Regions from separate parts of the Homo sapiens genome. Here regions 1 and 3 are each linked to region 2. Evidence: promoter capture Hi-C in 16 types of primary human blood cells and fetal thymus (Javierre and others, 2016). All regions are on one chromosome and are shown on one strand. The core of a region is centred on a gene start or on the middle of the fragment in contact, and the rest is flanking DNA. Distances in the headings are between cores, read along the strand shown.

Region 1 (2,700 bases), core at 201-2,700, 490 kb before region 2:
TTCTTCCACCACCACCAGCCTCCATCTGGCTGGACCTGGCTCAGCTTCCAGAGGTGCGTGAGCCACAGTGGGCTCCCAGCTCCTGGGTCTCAGCGCTGACTGGCATGGCCAGCAGGCTGTTGTTACTGGAGAACCAGCTGTGCCCAAGACCCGCAGTTTGGTTCAGAGCTGCCTCAGGGAAGAGCATGCTGCTGACATCGAGGCCAGGCCTAGTTGGGCGGCCCCACCTTGGCCAGGGTTGTGGGGTGAGGTCATGCCCAGCCCTGCTGCCCTGCCCAGGAGGGAAGTGCTGGGAGTAACCAGTACCAGCACAGCAAGGCAAGCAACTGGGGAGAGGAGGCACAGCTCCTGGGATCAGAGTTGGGGGTGGGGGCAGGAAGAGCCTGTACCAGCGCCACATCCCTCTGAAAGGGTCCAGGAAAGAACCTGCCCTAAGCAAGCCCACCTCACACTGCCCAAGTGGAGTCTCCTAGAGATACTGCCAGGCCCCTCGCTGCCCTGGCCATCAGACCCCTCCAACCCACACCCTCCATCCAAGCGGAAGCGCCCCAGCAACTGACGTGTCCCCATGGCTTGGGGCAGGCAGGCTGCACAGAGCCCCTGCTCTGCCACATCACCCAGGTGCCCAGCCTCGGCTCATGCCCCTTTTCAGTAATAGAAAGCATGTAACTGGATCTAGGGCCTTGCGGGCCCTGGGGGAGAAGGTGGACAGGACCTTGGGGGCCAATGGAGAAAGGTTCAAGGACAGGAGGCAGCTGGCCATGAGTTTGGGCTGTGGGGAGAAACCCCATAGGCAGGAGGGGGTCGGCAGTGGGGGCCAGCTGGGGTACAGAAAATCATCTCTTGGAATTTGGAGGAGGTGAGCGAACAGGAGGCCCCGGGGAGGAGCAGGAAGGCAGAGAGAAGGTTGGGAGCTGCCAGGGGCTGGGTTATGCCCCTTCCGGGGGGGCAGGCCCGGGAGCGCAGGGCCTGGGTTGCTCGGATGAGGTTTGTGTGGGTGCGGGTGAGGTCAGCTCGCGACCTGGGCTCCCCCGGAGAGGAAAGCTGCGGGTGGAGAGAGCGCAGGGAGTTTCAGGGCCCAGGCACTGGCTTTTGGGGGGCGGGTCTCTAAGCTCCCCACCCGAGAGTAGGAAGGTCCCATGGGACGGAGCGTCCTCAGGTTCAGGAAGTGACTGAGGGTCCTCAGGGGTGGGAGTCGCCGAGACTCTTGCAGGCTCTGGGCGGCCTATGTCCCCCTCCCTGCCTCACGCCCCCCAATTTACCTGGGCGCCGAGGCCCGGGCCAGGAGCGCCTGCTCAGCGGCGCCGCGGAGCAGGCTCATGCCCGCGTCACGGCGCGGCTGGCGGGGGCGGCAGGGCGGCGGCGGCGCCGGGCTCCAGGCGGGGACGGCGAGGGAGGCGCGGCCGCAGGGCTAGGGATCGGGCTCCGGCTGGGGCTCCGGCTGGGACTCCGCTCCGCTCCCCCCTCCGCCAGGTCTCGCCGCTGCGCCCCGCCCCCTGCCCCGCCCTGGCGGCCGGCCCCCGCCGTATTCCTCCGAGCCGCGGGACGCGCGATTCTGCCCTGGCGCCCTGGCACCCCCGCACCCGCTTCAGGTCGCCCCCGGTACCCCCAGCTCATTCCCACCGCCCCTCCCTGGGCCCCAAAGCCCACATGGCCTCTCAGCCCCTGAAAGCTGAACTCCACATCAGCTCCCAGCCCCCACATCTCAACCCCTTCACTTCTTCAGGAATCACATACACACCCATACGCCACATCAGCTCCCAGCCCCCATATCTCAATTCCTTCACTTCTTCAGGAATCACATACACACCCATTGCTCCCCTAACCCCATCATGACTCTCTGGGCCCTCACAGCCCAGCTCTCCCAGCCCCACAGTGACCTCCTCTGCTACCCCTCCTCAAGTAGCCGCACCAGCACCTCTGTCTTCCCTGGTCTCCTCTCCACCCTCAAAACATCCAGTTCTCCCATTCTAGGTCCCCCTGAGACTTTGCCCTCAAGCTCAAACTTCATTCCCCTTCATTGCTGCCCCCACCCAGCCCCCAACCCCCTCACCTCTGCCCTTCGGGCCTGTGCAGTGGTTGACTCACTGATCTGTCGGAATCCCCAGTCACAGGCCTCAGCTGTGCCAGGCAGGGACAAGAGAAGTTGCCCAGTGCCTCCTCTGGGGAGGAGCTGTCCCCCCTCTGGTTTTCACGTCTGTACCTTTTTACACCAGGGCTTCTCAAAGTGTAGTCCCTGGACCAGAAGCTTCCCATCACCTTGAAACTTGTTAGAAATGCAAATTCCCTGCCCTACTCAGACCTATGAAATCAGAATTTTTGGGGGTTTCCAGCAGAAATGTGTGTTTTAACAGGCCAGGTGATTCTGATGCACACGAATGTGTGAGAACCACTGCTTTAGACCATATATACAAAACAAAACAATAGGCCACCTGAACAGCCAAAATCCTGAGAAATGAAAATACCTCCACATCCAGCTACTGTCCAGGTGTCTCAGAGGAATAGGCCTAAAGCAGTGAGGGACCAAGGATCCCAACACCCACCCATGGAATGCATGCCCCTGCCCCGGAGACGCCTGGGCCTCAGCCTTGCCCAGGGAGCTTAAAAGGAGGCTGCCTCTGGATGTCTGAAAATTTCCCTGATGGTCATTGTGGTGTCTGTGATCAGCCTGAGCTAACCAGCCCCAGGCCCATGGCCAAG
Region 2 (2,700 bases), core at 181-2,680:
CGATCTCGGCTCACTGCAACCTCCGCCTCCCAGGTTCAAGCGATTCTCCTGCCTCAGCGTCCTGAGTAGCTGGGATTACAGGCTTGCACCACCACGCCCAGCTAATTTTTGTGTTTTCAGTAGAGACAGGTTTTCACCATGTTGGCCAGGCTGGTCTCAAACTCCCAACCTCAAGTGATCTGCTCACCTCAGCCTCCCAAAGTGCTGGGATTACAGGTGTGAGCCATCGTGCCTCACAATATACTTTCATTTCTCTTGGGAAGCCTCCTGGGGTAGAATCTTCCAGATGACCCAATCATATGGTACATTTCTGTTTCATTTTTTAAGAAACTGATAAACTGTTTTAAAAGTAGTACTCCATGTCTTGACCAGGGTGGGTGGTAGTTATACGGGGTCTCATTTTGTAAATTATTAGTTACATTAGATATTTATTCACTTTCTGTATTTCTTCTATTTTATAACTTTAAAAGAGTCAAGAAATAAATTGGGGGTGGGGTGGTGAGTGGAGTCAACTCTGGGAAGGTTTTTTGTAAGGGGTAGCAGTTAGGAATGCTGTTCTGGAAGCTGTATGGAGCACTGGAGGAGGAGCAACTGGGGAAACAAATCCTACAAGAATTTCACAGGAGGGGCTCCAAGACCCATCAGGTTCAGCCCCTGGGCAGGTATATGCAAAAGCACATGCCAATATATGCAAATAAGTTAGGATCTCCTGGGGTTTCCTCACCTTGGGGGTCTGTCTCTAATGGTTGTGACCAGGATGGTGGGCAGGCCCCAGGGCTTTGGGGTGCTGGCCTTGGGCACTCACAGCCTGGCTTTTCTGGGAGCCTGCAGTCCTGCAGGGGCTGAGGGTGGAGTATCATCTGCTAATCCCTGGCCTGCTGAGTCCACCACTCTCCCTGATCCCCTCACGCTTACCCTGGATACTGGCCACAGCTAATCTCCACTCCTGGAGACTCAAGGGCTGGCAGACAGTGCAGTGCCCTCTTCCCTGAGGGTTCCAGGGAGGGGAGATCCCTCTCAGCATCCAGATCCTCCTAACGGCAGATCCTAGAGTCCTTGCCTAACACAGAGGAGAGCCTTGAGTCCCAGAGAGAGGCGGTAATTAGCCCAGGATTACACAGCCTGCAGTGGGCTCAGTAGCCATTTCTGGCCTGCCTTGGCCTGACTACCTCCAGGGAACCCCAGCTCCCCATCTGACATTTCCCAAGATGCCTGGCCTGTGCTAAGGCCTGGGAGACCACAGCCTTCAGGAAGGCTGGAAGGGAGTGGCCAGAGCACAGGAATTCTGGCACAGGCTCTTGTTAGAGCCTGTAGTTGCCAGGGTTGCTAAGGAGTGGGTGCCTCAGAATCAGGCTGCAATGGGCATTGTCTGTGCACAATGTTCCTTTATTCTGCTGCTGTCCATAATAAGGGCTCGTCCACCTCCCTTCCTCTTCTGCCCATTGAGCAGTCAAAGAACTGAAAGTCCTTATAAGCCTGTGCACCTGGGCCTGGGCCCTACAGATAAGGTAGCTGCTATTGGTGAGTCAGAAGCAGGGAGCCCTTGCTCTCTTCCCCATATCCGTGATCCCCCTCCCTGTCCCTCCCCAGGCAGTCACATCCCCTAAGGCAGCTTCCCCATGCCTTGTCACCATGCCCCCTCCCTGCTCCTCCATGATCTAAGGTCCTCTCTCCTCCTGCCACCCTAGCTTCCACCTCCACCTCTCACCTCTAACTCAGGGTCAGGAAGAAAGCAAGCTGTCTCAACAAATTCTCACTAAAGTGTAAATGACTGAAAGGCTCCTGGGACTATCTGCTTTTTAAAGGGAGGCACTGGGTATCCAGTAATGCTTTTCTAGTTTAAATATATCATGTTGCTCCCCTTCCTGAAAATCTTTCTGAGTCAATCTGTAGAATTTTGGGTAAATAGCTAGGGCAAGTCCATAATTATTCACCCAGAGGTATACGGCATACTAAGCTACATTCTGAACCCGCTTGCTGCTGCACTTTCCTGCTTATTATTTAAGAATAGACTCGCCAGGCAAGGTGGCTCACACCTGTAATCCCAGCACTTTGAGAGGCTGAGGCGGGTGGATCACTTGAGGTCAGGAGTTCGAGACCAGCCTGGCCAACACAGTGAAACCCCGTCTCTACTAAAAATACAAAAACTAGTCACATGTGGTGGTGGATGCCTATAATCCCAGTTCCTCAGGAGGCTGAGGCAGGAGAATCACTTGAACCCAGGAGACAGAGGTTGCATTGAGCCAAGATGGCGCCACTGTACTTCAGTCTGAGCAGAAGAGTGAGACTGTCTCAAAAAAAAAAAAAAAAAGAAAAGAAAGAAAGAAAAAAAAACGAATAGACTCAAATACCACCTCTTTTAGACCATTCCTTGAATGTCCTAACCCCAGCCTCCCCAGAAACACACACTCTGTACTGACCTCCCTCACAGCCATGGCACAATGTGAGTGTGTGTGTGTGTGTGTGTGTGTGTATGTGTGTGTTGGAAGGGGAGTGGGAGGGTTGTCTCTGTTATCTTCTGTTATCTGAATGTTCCTGCCACCTCATGCTGAGCTCCAGAAAAATGGCCTGGCACACAGTAGGTGCTAAATAAATGTTTGGCAAGTAGACATCGGCACTGGCCAAGGTTGTTTTCATGCAGAGAAGGGTGTCTGGCCAGCATGAGCCCAGGGTGAGCCCCTTAGAACCCTCTGCCCCCCA
Region 3 (2,700 bases), core at 101-2,600, 440 kb before region 2:
CTGCAGGACCTCTGGGGGGAGCTGGCTGGCGGGAAAGGAAGGGATGGCGGCTAGGCCTCCAGGCTGGACCTAAGCCCAGGGGTAGGCACCCCTGGCCTATTCCCAGGTAGCCCCATCTTAGACTGAGGAGCCACAGAGACAGCCTGGATCATTGATTTGAACTCCTTTCTTTACATATGGACCAACTGAGGCCCAGAGGGACAGCTACGTGTCTGTGTCCACACCGCGGACCAGCAGCAAGGCCAGAGTAGGGAGCTGGTGATGGGATGCCTCCTCTTCTGGATCTTAGCCACCTGAGGGGCACAATGCCCCCGAGAGCACCTACACGATGGGGTCTGCAGGCACCAGGCCAAGTGGATACGCACAGCTGGAATGGTGGGGTGAACCTTCATGGGGACCCAGCCCCACCCCGACCCCAGCCCCACCCCTCTCGGCAACACCGTGAACTCTTCACTCTTGTACAGCAGACATCCCGCTAGTCCCAGCTCCATCACTGATATGCTGTGTGATATCTGCAAGTCCCTGCCCTCTCTGGGCCTCAGTTTCCTTACCTACAGGATGGGGAGAGGCACTAAAAAGATTCCTGAACGCTCTAACAGGTGGGCAGACCTCCCGAACCCAAACCAATCCAACCCCCACAAGAGCCCTGGGAGAGCGGGGGTGGGAAGGTGGACACCACCCCCACCTAAGGTACTGAAACTGAAGCCCCAGCCCTGCGTCGCCTTAGTCCTCACTTAGTCGACCCCTCCCAAGCCGCTGGCCCTGCGAACCGCCCCGCTCCACCTAGCGACGGGCGGAGGGTGGAGGGGGTTCCCGGCCCGCGCCGCGCGGTCCCGCCCACCCCACCGCATGGCCCCCATTGGCAGTCGCCGCGGCTCTGGGCAGGGCGCCGTGCTCTGATTGGCCAGCGCCGCCCGTCCATCCCGCATTCGCCATGGCGACCACGTTGGGTCCCCCGGGAGAGTCCCAAATTCCGTCCCCGCCCGCCGCCCCCTCCCGTCCGGCCCGGGCCGCGGCATTCCGGAGGCGCCTCCCCTCCCCCATCACCCCGCGGCCCCTCCCCACCGGAGACCTGGGGTTCCGGGGGCTGAGGGAGGCCGGGGAGGCGTCTAGAAAGTTCTGCTCTGAGTTCGGGGGTTGCCGCGGGCGCCCCGACTGTGTCTGCTCCTCCAGCACGCCCCACAACTTAACCCCTTCCTTCCCGCGGAAGGCGCGCGGCCTGGAGCAAGTTCCCGGGCCGCCTTGGCCTGCCGCCCCCCGGCCTGCCGCCCCCGCTCACCTCGGGCCGGGACTTGCGGGCTCCGTACGTCCCAGCCGCTGCGGCGGGGTAGAGCGGGCACCGTGCAGCTGCGACCGCCGCCGGAGGGGCCGAGGGAGGGCCGCGGAGTCTCCTCCTCCCTCCCGGGGGGAGGGGAAGCAGGGGGAGCGGCGGGGCCCCCGAAGCGGTCGCAGGCTGCGGCCCCGCTGTGACCCCGGCCCACCGAGCTGCTGGGGTGGGGGCTCCAGCCTAACTTCGGGGCGAGGGGTGCGGGCCGGGGCGGTGGGCTCTGCTGCAGAGCGGGCCGTACCCCAACGGAGGCCCCACCCCCGTGAGGGGCCGAGAGTTGCGGGGGGGCTCGGCTTTCTTGGTTCAGGTTTCCTCAGCGCCAACTACGTACTAGGCGCCCCCAGCAGAAACGGCCACCGCGGGTCCCAGCTCGGCACGTGGAGCGAGCTTACCAAGTCTTCACTGTTGTTACCTGCATTTTTCCCTGGGCCAGCTCTGCCACCGAGTGGAAGTGGGCCAACAAGTCTGTGCCCATCGGGCCTCAGTTTCTCTTTCTGTACAACAGAAGGGTTGACGAAAGCAACCTTGCGCTTGTTAAGAGGTGGGGGGCGCGGGGAGCACTCGGCCCGGCGGGCGGAGACTTTTCTCTGCATTGCGATGGTGGTTGGCAGGCCCTGGGGAATTACGGTACTTCGCCTTCGGGGACGCCCAGCTGTTTTGGGGCTTTCTCTCTATTGGGGGTAGGATGTTTGTGGTCTTGACTGGAAAGCCGGGACAGGCGTCTGGAGGACTCCCCACTACATCCTGTACCCTGGAAGGCCCCCGAGGTGAATCTATTTAAAAGAAGACCAACAATTCACCAAGATGGTGGGGAAAACCTGGCCTGATTGGGATTTTACCTAGAAAAAGAAGCTAAATATTACGAAGATAAATTAGTTTTACCCCGTGATTAACGGAGTTTAGATTATGATTGCAACCACGCACGCCTTAAAATGAACCAAGAATGAATCAGATGTTAACACTGGAAGTCTTGCTTTTTCTTGTAATAGTTGAGTATGTAGCATCCTTCCCTTCTGAACTGGTTTTTGCAGTAAGAGATTCATTTTTGCAAAAATATTTGAGAGCTTCCTCAAACTCAAGGATCACTCTGAATCCTTTGATAGTCCAGTGCCTTTTTTCGGGTCTGGGTCACTTCCCTTGCAGACGTTCCCTTTCTCTGTGGGCAGCGGCTGTTCCATTTCTCCTGCTTTGCTTCCACCAACTTCATGAAATCCCATACGTTGCAAGACTGGCAGTTTCACTTGTCGATTCATTTGCTTTGTATTTGTTATGCGTGGCTGAATGTTGAAAGCGTCTGTTCACCAGCCAGAGATAGATAGGAGATGTATGTGGGGTTTGAGTACTCAGAGGACAAGGGCATCCACATTTTACAG

Evidence for each region. The method cuts DNA at HindIII sites, captures the fragments that hold promoters and counts their contacts. A CHiCAGO score of 5 or more calls a contact.
Region 1: the fragment with the promoter of DOK4 here is called in contact with the fragment with the promoter of SPMIP8 in region 2 in 4 of 17 cell types (monocytes, erythroblasts, fetal thymus and 1 more); the score reaches 7.4 in monocytes.
Region 3: the fragment with the promoter of CCDC102A here is called in contact with the fragment with the promoter of SPMIP8 in region 2 in 1 of 17 cell types (neutrophils); the score reaches 8.8 in neutrophils.

The regions. Positions count from the first base shown.
Region 1 is chr16:57,485,043-57,487,742 of GRCh38, forward strand. It overlaps DOK4 (docking protein 4), which reads right to left and starts at 1,451. Exons shown (of 9, transcript NM_018110.5): 1 at 1,263-1,451. RefSeq lists an enhancer at 704-1,500 and a silencer at 1,332-1,631. The HindIII fragment of the contact is 22,139 bases long and covers 1-2,246 here.
Region 2 is chr16:57,975,114-57,977,813 of GRCh38, forward strand. It overlaps SPMIP8 (sperm microtubule inner protein 8), which reads left to right and starts at 1,431. Exons shown (of 8, transcript NM_199456.3): 1 at 1,431-1,521. The HindIII fragment of the contact is 9,202 bases long and covers 1-2,700 here.
Region 3 is chr16:57,535,221-57,537,920 of GRCh38, forward strand. It overlaps CCDC102A (coiled-coil domain containing 102A), which reads right to left and starts at 1,351. Exons shown (of 9, transcript NM_033212.4): 1 at 1,280-1,351. It also overlaps a transcript of ADGRG5 not described here. RefSeq lists a silencer at 644-1,593. The HindIII fragment of the contact is 24,074 bases long and covers 1-2,700 here.